2 separate regions of the Homo sapiens genome follow, and region 2 is linked to region 1. The links are contacts of gene promoters, found by promoter capture Hi-C in blood cells and fetal thymus (Javierre and others, 2016). All regions are on one chromosome and are shown on one strand. Each heading gives the region's core, a stretch centred on a gene start or on the middle of the fragment in contact. The rest is flanking DNA. Distances are from core to core; before and after follow the strand shown.

Region 1 (5,177 bases), core at 1,723-4,222:
AAAACTGGGGGCCTCTGAGAGGTCTTTGAGGTCTCAGACATCACTAACTCACTGTCCTCAAAGGAGGAACTAAAGAACAGCTCACATCTCCCAATGAAACGGCTGGCTCTGAAGTCAGGTTGAGAAGATTCACTCCATGACTAGAGGCAAGGATTACCACACATTTCAGGGAAGTATCCAGTATAAAAAGAGAACAATTCAAACTTTTTTGTAAAGGGGGAATTTGATTTGGATATAAAAGACAAAAATAGATTAAAAAAAAAAGCACCAGAAAACTTTAAACTAATTGCCCTCTGAGAGATTAGAGGTTTTATTGCATCCATAATAAAAACGAAAGGCTATGAAGAAATAAAAATTACAGAATATAAAGGAGCTCTTGGAAATTAGAAATGATTATCAAATTAAAAATAAATACAATTGTACTGTAAAGTCAACAAAATTTCCCAAAGTAAGAGAAAAAGAGAAAAAATAGGAGACAAAACATACAGCTCATGAAAAGTCCTTCCATGAAATACAAATTCCAGGACAAGAGAACAAAAATTCAGAAGGATAGAGGACTGTCAAAAAAGAAAAAGAGGAAGAAAAATGTTCAGACCTATAAAGTGCTGCCCTATAACTAGCAGAAAAAAATGTTTAAACATACATGCCAAGTGCATAAATTATGAAATGTAAGTGCATTGTGGATTACAGGTGGCAATAGGTATCTGGGCGTTGGTGGGAGTGGGACATGAAATTAAAAAGGAACAGAAAACAATTGGTATTAGACTTGACAACATTAGCTACTAGAACACTGTGAAGTGACGCCTCCAAATTCTGAATCTAGGCAAAGTGTGAAGGCAGAATAAAGACATTTTCAGGCCCAGCGCGGTAGCTCACGCCTGTAATCCCAGCACTTTGGGAGGCCTAAGTGGGCGAATCACCCGAGGTCTGGAGTTCGAAATCAGCCTGGCCAACATGGTGAAACCCCATCTCTACTTAAACTATAAAAAAAAAAAAAAAAAAAAAAAAATGGCCAGGCGTGGTGGTGCACGTCTTTAATCCCAGCTACTCGGGAGGCTGAGGCAGAAGAATCGCTTGAACTGGGGAGGCAGAGGTTGTAGTGAGCTAAGATTGCACCACTGCACTCCAGCCTGGACAACAGAGTGAGACTCCGTCTCAAAAAAAAAAAAAATTTCAAACATGAAAGAACTAAAAAACATCTTTAATACATGCATCTTAAGGAACTTATTGGAAAAGAACTTTAGCAAAAATTAGCTGAATTCTAGGAAACAAGAATCAAACTTAGGAAAACAATGACGGTAAATTTTAGGACAACTGTACAGTCCAATTGCAGCCACAGAATGGAAGAGAGATTCTACTCCGATGTTTGAACCACTGAAAAAATAATCGATGAACATTTAACATATCTGTTGGAACATTTCTAAAAAATAGCAACAAGTACAAAGAAAACCAATAAATCCTTGATAAACAAACTCATGTAAGAAATGTACTTGGTTTTAAAGAGAAAATAATTGACGTAATTAGTACATATACTCCACATATTCACTTAACCAAAACTTGAGATATCTGGAAGAGATCAAGGAGAAAGAAGAAAGTTTTAAATATTTTAAATGAAGTATTACAATGAACATTTTTATTACTAAAGGTATTTTTAGCTACGAAAATGAGGCTGATCTTTCAACTAAAGATCAAAGAAACTTACTATCCAAGAATGCTTGGAGACATTGAATTTATCCAAGAGTTCATCCAGGAACAAAGGGGAAAAAACAAATCTCATTTGTTAGAATATTCCAAGACCAGGTATGGAAGAAAATAAAATGCCTCTCCCTCCCGTTTCATGGTGTCCTATTCAATTTTCTGACACAGTCCTACAATTCCATCATTTGGAAGTAATAGCAACCTTATTCCTTTCCAATTTTTTTTCCTGCAATTATTTTACTTGCCTAACACCACAGTCCTGAGGGCACACAAGGGCCAGATGCAGATAATCAAAATCCCAACACTCAGTTTCATAGGGACCCACAAACCGTCTCCATGGAAAACCAGAACCAGAAGCGCTGCCCTATCAGAAGGATTCTGGAAATAACGCTGGATGAGGCAGAGCCACAGTCACAGATCCGATGTCAGGTACGTCACAAACGCAGACACAAACCGCAAAGACCCCAGAGACCCGCTACAGCCAGCGTCAGAGTCAGGCACCACCGCGCAGCCTTCTCTGCGGCACCATCCTAATCCCCCGCTAGAGAACGGCACACGCGCACGCAGCAGCCCCGTGCACGGAAACACTACTCCGCCAGCGGCCAGGCACTCGGTCCAGGTACGCGGGGGCGCGGCGGCCGTCACTCAGCAAACACCACAGGCAGCACGCGCCGCGCCTTGGTCCAGGCTCGCGATACTGGGGTTTCCTCCATCCAACTCACGCCAGGGTCACGGCTACAGGCCTAGATTTGAACACTCCATCCCCATCGGGATCCTGTAGCCAACCTCCACCCTCCTCCAAACCTCCCGACCCCTCGGCAGGTGCGGCCCCACACTTCTCCCTTGCTCCCTGAAGGGCCCCAGCGTTCGCCCCCCGCGCGCTTGCGCACTCGAGGCAGAAGCCGATTTCCAAAGGTTCCGGTGAGGCGTCGCTGGGGGCGGGGCGGGGCTCGCAGCCTCCGCCTGTCTCCGAGCCGAGAACCAAATGAAAAATAAAAAGGCGGAATATTGTTTTTTTAAATTTTGGACCGCAGTGTCCACAGGGGAGCAGGCCTGGATTATCTTTAATGGCACTGGTCAGTCACGGGGCGGCCATTACAGGTAGAGGCCTGAGGCGAGGGACACTGCGGCCCCTCTGGCTCCGTCTCCCCGGCCCGACTATCCCCGCCGAGACCCGGCCCCACGCGCCCCTCCCGGCCCGGAGCAGCTGCGGGACTTGCCTCCGCCCCCCCGCGCGCTAGCGCATTCGCGACGGAGACAGGCGCTCTCCCGTATTCTGGCGCCGCTGACTCCCAGGGCTGGGCTATCCTCTGAGTCGGGTGAGGCTGGGGCTGGGAGCCGGGCGCCACTGTGGCCGCTGCTTTTCTGAGGGAAAAGAGCGCGGAGTGGGCCAGGTTTTGCAGGCCGGGCCAAGGTGGAGAAAAGGTTCCTGTGGAGCCTCAGGCCGGTGTGCTTTTTTTCCCGGGACTGAGCTTCTGCAGCCCTGAGGCCTGGAGGCCCGGGCGGTAGTAACTGTGCCGGACCAGGTTCGTGGGTGCGGCCTGTGGTGCAGTTGGAGACCGAGGCCCCGCGCATCCTCGTCCGCGCTTCAGCCACTTAGGCTCGGCCGTAGCGAAAAGGCCCAAGAGGGAAGTCAGAGGTGAACGCCCCAGGATGAAGGTCCCCTGCAAAACGCTGGGACCTAGATTTGGGGTGGGTGTCTGGGGTCTAGGAGGACACGCTGGACAGTTCCGAAAAGACACAGTGGGTGGTCCCGGGCGTGGGCAACCGGGTGCGGAACTACAGCGTACCCGGAGCTGCGAACCCAGACGCGGGTGACTGCTGACCCTCTGCCCTGTCGTTTCCATTTGTGCATGCAGGTGGCGGTTAGTTGGGGCCAGGGAAGCGTGGAGGGTGGGTTCCAATCGAGTCAAGAAAAGCCTGGGGTGTCCTGAACTCTGCCTGCTTCCCCAGCCCTGCCAGTTTCCAGAGAAGGCGCTTGAGAAGGAGAAACGAATCGCTGCTGCTCTTCTAAAAGCCGGTTCCCTGTGAGTTCGTGCTGCTGCTTTGTTTCTGTGAAATGCATTCGAGTTCCTTCCGTTTAAAATCCTGCTTAGGAATGATCTATTTATTCATTGATTTGGGCCTTAGGATTTCCCTACCTAGTTAACGGCAGGGGACCTAATTAATAGATTTCCCGTTGTTAGTGCCCACTTCATGCTGTTCTATAGTTAGACACATGGTTAGTTAACTGTAGGCTGCAAATTCAATTACTCTGTGAGCGCTGTTTTTCTAAGGATCTTGATGATATGGAAATACCCGTGCTGGAGATTAATGTTCATACTTTGTTTTTATTTGTTTTTTAGGGTTTAGATATGTTTAATGGTTCTGGGGTAGGAGTGGAGATTTCTTTTTTTCCAGGAAATTCATGAGTGGAAGTTTTTGGTACCAGCCAGATGTGGTTTGAGGTCTGGCAGCATGAGTTTATTTTGGGTATATCTTGGATCGACTGAGGGAGGTGTAGTGTAGTGGTTAAGAATTTCGAGCCTAGATTAAGTGGAATTGAATCCTGACTGCCACTTAAATCTGAACGAGTTTAAGCAATCTGTGCTTCAATTTCCTCAGAATTGTAATAGTGTATACTTTACGGTGTTGTTTTGAAGATTACATGAATTAATATTTGTGAAGCTCTTAGGAGAGTGCCTGGCACATAGTGAGTCCTTAATTCATACTAGCTACTGGTATTAAAATGATGATGCTCAGTCATTTCCTATCAGCTTTGTGTATTTCCAAGACCAATGCAAATGTGAAGGTAATTATGATGGATGCTTGCAAGCAGGAAAATGAGCCAGACCCTGCAGTGGACCAGAACAGGGATTGGTAACATAAGTCCTTGGACTCTGTTTATGAGCTTTCAGGGCAACAAAGATATTTTAAGATTATATACAGAATTGTTGTATGTATTTGTAAATGGTTAATTTTTTCAGTGGAGCGAGGAAGTCTATCATTTCATGGTATTATCAGAGTTGTATAAGCTCCAACAACATTGATTCTCACTGTCTAGAAATGAAATAACTGGTAATGACTTTCGGGATGTTCTTTTATAAAATTAATATCTAGCAGTATGGAAATGGTTAAATCACACTCCATGTGATGGAATGTTATGCAATAATAAGAATTTTGTTTATATTTAGTCATAAGAAAAAAGTATAATGTAATATTGAGAAGTATTGTTGTAAATAAGAATCATCAAGAAATTGTTACATATGAATCTTGTATACTACAATAAAGGTTTTTAAGTTATTTTGCAACAATGTAATATTTAAATATTAAATTGCTAGGTATTTAATGATTAGTTATTTATTGGAGCTGAGGAGGGGTAAATGCAAGTTATTAAGTAGCTGCTGTGAAATGAGCATTTGTTTTTGTCTGCAGTTCTTACTGGCTCTTAATCACTTTGGAAATGACATGAACCAGGATTGTAATCCTTCACAGAACTA
Region 2 (5,326 bases), core at 2,786-5,285, 1.1 Mb after region 1:
GACCTCCCTCTTCCCATATACTGTTAATAATAATGTGATCTACCTATTCTACTTCGATAGAAAGTAGGGCCGGGCACGGTGGTTCACACCTGTAATCCTAGCACTTTGGGAGGTCAAGGAGGGCCGGTTGCTTGAGCTCAGGAGTTCCAGACCAGCCCAGTCAATGTGGCGAAACCTTGTCTCCACCTAAAATACAAAATACAAAAATTAGCCAGGTATAGTAGTGGGTGCCTGTGGTCCCAGCTACTCAGGAGACTGAAATGGGAGAGTCACTTGAGCCTAAGAGGTCGAGGCTGCAGTGAGCCAAGATTGTGCCACTGCCCCCCAGCCTGGGTGACAAAGACCCTGTCTCAAAAAAAAAAAAAAAAGAAAAAAGAAAAAGTAGAATCACTCACTAGTAAACTGAGATATGTGGACATGATGAGGCTTTCCCTTGTATGGGCTCTCCTGAGTACTCACTACATAGACATCAAATCACTATCTGTATAAAAAAGGTTTATGAAAGGAACATATGCTTATTTAATTCAAGGGAATATGTTTCTGTTTATAGGAGTGAAAAGGAGTGCTGAGTGATATAGCCAATTATTATTATTATTATTATTATTATTTTGAGACGGAGTCTTGCTTTGTAGCCCAGGATGGAGTACAATGGCACGATCTTGGCTCACTGCAAACGCCGCTTCCTGGGTTCAAGCAATTCTCCTGCCTCAGCCTCCCGAGTAGCTGGGACTACAGGTGCGGGCCACTACGCCTGGATAATTTTTGTATTTTTAGTAGAGACAGGGTTTCACTATGTTGGCCAGGCTGGTCTTGAACTCCTGACCTCGTGATCCACCTGCCTCAGCCTCCCAAAGTGTTGGGATTACAGGCGTGAGCCACCGCGCCCGGCCAAAATATCCAATTATTAAGTGAACAGTAGTTACAATTAGAAGGGAAACTTGGAGAAGGCAACATCGTTATCTGACTAGAATAAAAGAAAATGGAGAATCCTGTCTCATGGAAGTTTCATGGTAGGCAAATGCTCAGTTATCCTGGGGGAAAGATATTTCAGAAAGGAGAGAAGAAACATTCATTCTCAGCCATAGCTTTTATAATTTGCAGGAAAGGACCCTTGCTCTTTTGGATTCTTTTTTTCAAAAGGTGAACAACAGAGAGAAGGGAGGCAAAAGAAGTCACGTGAGGCCGGGTGCAGTGGCTCACGCCTGTAATCCCAGCACTTTGGGAGGCGGAGGTGGGTGGATCAAGAGGTCAGCAGTTGGAGACCAGCCTGGCCAACATGGTGAAACCCCATCTCTACTAAAAATACAAAAATTAGCCGGGTGTGGTGGCGGGTGCCTGTAATCCCAGCTACTTGGGAGGTTGAGGCAGGATAACTGCTTGAACCCGGGAGGCAGAGGTCGCAGGGAGCCAAGACGACGCCATTGCACTCCCACCTGGGTGACAGAGCGAGACTCCATCTCAAAACAAACAAACAAAACAAAACAAAAAAAAAACACATGTGAAACCTCTTAGAGTTTCTATAATAACGTGGTTAAACCTGCCTGGTTAACTAATAAGCATTTACTATTAAATCCTAATCATTATGCGAGATAGTACCTATTTAGTAATACCGGTTGGGGAAGTAGAGAAGAAAGTAATTACACTGTAGGCTCTAGACAGTTGAAAGAAATTTTTCTTTTAAATGAAGTTTGAAATTTGATTTTTACAGTAAATATTTTAATTAGAAAATGACTATTTTAATTACTACAAAGCTGACTTTGTGATTTTTAGTATTTCAAGTACTTTTACTTGGCTTAAAGTGATTTAGGAGGGCATTAAATCACCCTCAACTTCATCCAGGGGCAAGCAGGAGGCGGGGGGATGGGTGGGAGGGGACCTCAAATCTATATAACTATTCAAAGTGGTAGGGATGAAAGTATTTTACTTCTGTGCTACATATGGAGTCCTCATTTCAACATATTGGATTTAGTTTGTATGATGTTTCCAGGTAATGCAACCCTGTCATCTAGAAATTATAATTTTACCTCCTAGTTTCCAATGCTTGTGATATTTTAGTTATTAGAAACTGTCATAATTCTGCAAGCAAAATGAAATACACCAGACACACAGAGTTCTTCAGTCATTAACATCACTTACATAGTGATCCATTTTCAGTTATCATGGAATGTACACACAAAACCATGATAAATAACAATTAGCACAGACACATTCAGTTTCCTGTGATCTTACCTACTCCACAAAGCCACAATCCTATGGATCCTACATGACATTCACAACCCTGTTGAGCCCATCTTATAATTCCATACAAACATAGCAAAGCAAACTCAGAAACTACTTACTCCAGTTACACAATCTCACACACACAAATCACAACTAATCATTCTAAAAGGCTTATCAGCTTCTTGGAAAGTTAAATGTAAACTTACCAATTACCCAGCAACTTTTCTTCTAAATATTTGCCCAGGAGAAATGGAAACGTGCCAGCTTTATTCGTAATGTATAAAACCTGTAAATATGCCAAATGTTCAACAACAGAAAAATGACTACACAAATTGTGGTATATTTGCACAATGGAGTGCTGTTCAGAAAAAGAAAAATGAACTACACATGAAATCTCACACACATTAGGGTAAACTAAAGGAGAAATATGGAATTCCGGAACTGACAGTTACAGTGACACAAATCAGAACTATGGCTGTCTCTGCTTTGAAACTGACTGGAAAGGACACCAGCAAACTCCGGTGGTGCTGGTGTTGTAAACCAAAAATAAAATCCTAAGCACACCCAGACCATCTTGAATGGACCCCTCCTCTTGGCCAGGGCATTCCTAACCTGAAAAACTAGTAAAGCCATGATGGAAAGGCGGGGGTGGGCGGGTCGGACATGCTTCATTATACCCTCCTCCATTTTGGAATTACTGATAGAAAAGACCCCAAGTCTGAAAAGAAACATTTACAATCTATTCTCTGTGAAGCGTGCTACCTGGAGACATTCCTAAGTCTTACGTCAATAACTCTTTCAACCCATTGCCAATCAAATAATCTTTGAATCTACCTATGACCTGGAAGGCCAGCCACCTTCCAGCTGTCCCGCCTTTCCGGAGGGAATCAATGTACATTTTACATGTATTTGATTGGTGTCTCATGTTTCCCTAAAAGGTATAAAACCACATATATCCCGTCCACCCTGGGCACAGGTTCTCAAGATCTCCTGAGGGCTGGGCCACCGGCCATTGGTCACTCATATTTAGCTCAGAATAAGTCTCTTCAAATACTTTAGAGTCTGAGTCTTTTCGTCAACAGTGTAAAACACGCCCTAAGGCAGACACACACACACTGAACCGCCGCTACCTGCCAGATTCCATCTGGGGCCTTTCTCATGGTGCAAAACGGACAAAAACTCCAAGTCACCCTCAGGTTTACGACCACGGGTCACATCCTGAGGCCCCCACACTTAGAAGCCAGAGTGGAGCAAAACCTCGCCCGACTCAGGCTCCGAGTTCTCCCCTCGACCCTCCCCAGCCTAAAGGCTGTACCCGCTTCAGGCCTTCCCAGCCCGGCCCTCCAGTTCCTTCTTCGGCCTCCCTCAGCCTGGGGTCCGGGTTTCCTCCTCGGCTGAGCAGCCGGGTCCGCGACTCCCTTCACCCTCCCCGGCCCGGGCTTCCGGTTCTTTCCAGAGGTGAGGCAGGGGCCACCTAGAATTCCGCGGCCCCCCACCTCCCCCAAGACCACCCTCGCCCCAGCTTCCTGTTCCCCATTCTGTCCTCCCAACCTGGGTTCCCGATTACTGCCTCGACTTCACCTTGCCGTCAGGGACCACCAGCCGCCTCTTCCGCGCCTAGGGGACGCGCAGCGGCAGCCTCTGCTGATGGCAAGGGTCTGCGCACCCGGAAACTCCAGGGTCTGGGGCGTGGTGCGGCCCCTGCGGCCAGCGGGCTCCGCTTGAGCTTCAGGGCTCTTTCGTTGTTGGACTACGTTTCCCACAGGCCTCAGGGCCGCGGATGAACTTCGACCTTTGCTTCCTTTTCCGGTGTTGTGGTTATTGAGTTAAGCCTGGCGAGTCGAGGTGACCCGGGCCGGGCTGCGGGAGGAGCTCGCGGTGAGGTGGCCCCGCGCTGCCGGGCGAGGTCGGTCCACGTGGAGCCGGGAGCCTGAGGCCTCTGTACGCGGGAGCTGCGGACGATGGTGGTTAGTGCTATTGTTTACGACGTCATTGTGGTGTGTGTGTGTGAGAGACGGAGACCCTAGTGTGTGCCGTGGGTGCTGTTTGATCGGACTCAGGACGGTGAGTAGGGGCGGGGTCTATCGTGTGACCCTGGTCTACGGTGACGTGATCGTGTGACAGCACTGTTGTGACCAACTATAAGTGTGAACGGGGTAGAAGTGTTTTTTTGTTTTTTTTTGTTTGTTTGTTTGTTCGTTTTTTTCCGTGAGCCTGTAGGAGTTTGTTTTGGGTAAAGCGTCATTTTTCCGACTCTGTGATGTCTGTGATGGAATCTCTTCGTGAGGTCTTATACACACACACACACGCATATAGATAGATTACATAGATGATATATAGAAGATAGATAAATGATAGATAATAGATAGATAGATAGATAGATAGATAAGATAGATAAATGAAGTTTCCTGGGAAGACGTGAAGGGGAGGGCATAGGTGTAGTATTCATTCCTGGGATAACTCCCCTTGCATGAGTTTGGAGGCCATTTATACATTAAAGAACTACAGTATTTCCTGAGCTGTGTTCCCTAGAAACTGCTAGGCATTGGTCGTACCTTTTTCTCGGATGTGGGGAGGAGTCGACAGTATTCTAGTTTCCCTCTTCGATCTGGGTGTGTTTGTTGTGTGTGATGGGCTTTTCTGGTGGTGAACACTGTGTTCTTATTTAACCAGTCCAGGATGTCATGAGTCCTTTCTCCCTCTTGGTTATGTAGTTCTGCAAGTGAAGGCCCCCTGAAGTGGAAGACAGCATTGGTACTAATGGCCAACTCAAGGTTAGTTTTTTTTTTTGTTCATTTACCTGGTCCCTTGGTTTTCTCTTCCCAATTAACAACAGGACCGTAGAGATGGGTCCCCTTGTCCTCCATTGCCTTTCCAAATGCCCATTTCCCTTTCATTGAATATTCACATATGCATTAGGTAAATCATTCAATTCTCCCATGTGCTTCTTTTTTTCCAAAGGATTTTTATGGTATAGAAATACAACTCCTGGAGGAGAAGTTAAAACTTTTTTTTAGAATGTAATTTGTTAAGGAGGAGACGAGTGATTAAGTAGAATGGCACACTAGATACCTTTGATCTTATTTACAGACTTGATTTGCAAACA

The links. Contacts are between HindIII fragments. The CHiCAGO score rates a contact against its expected background, and 5 or more counts as called.
Region 2: the fragment with the promoter of ZNF529 here is called in contact with the fragment with the promoter of ZFP30 in region 1 in 1 of 17 cell types (non-activated CD4 T cells); the score reaches 8.0 in non-activated CD4 T cells.

What each region holds. Positions count from the first base shown.
Region 1 is chr19:37,653,260-37,658,436 of GRCh38, reverse strand. It overlaps ZFP30 (ZFP30 zinc finger protein), which reads left to right and starts at 2,972. Exons shown (of 6, transcript NM_001320669.3): 1 at 2,972-3,017; 2 at 3,558-3,725. RefSeq lists enhancers at 2,367-2,416, 1,816-2,803 and a silencer at 2,827-3,016. The HindIII fragment of the contact is 13,390 bases long and covers 1-5,177 here.
Region 2 is chr19:36,572,001-36,577,326 of GRCh38, reverse strand. ZNF529 (zinc finger protein 529) reads left to right here and starts at 4,035. Exons shown (of 5, transcript NM_020951.5): 1 at 4,035-4,187; 2 at 4,935-4,994. The coding sequence starts at 4,981. ZNF529-AS1 (ZNF529 antisense RNA 1) reads right to left here and starts at 3,978. Exons shown (of 5, transcript NR_173348.1): 1 at 3,772-3,978; 2 at 2,427-2,506; 3 at 90-186. RefSeq lists an enhancer at 3,889-3,978. The HindIII fragment of the contact is 11,229 bases long and covers 1-5,326 here.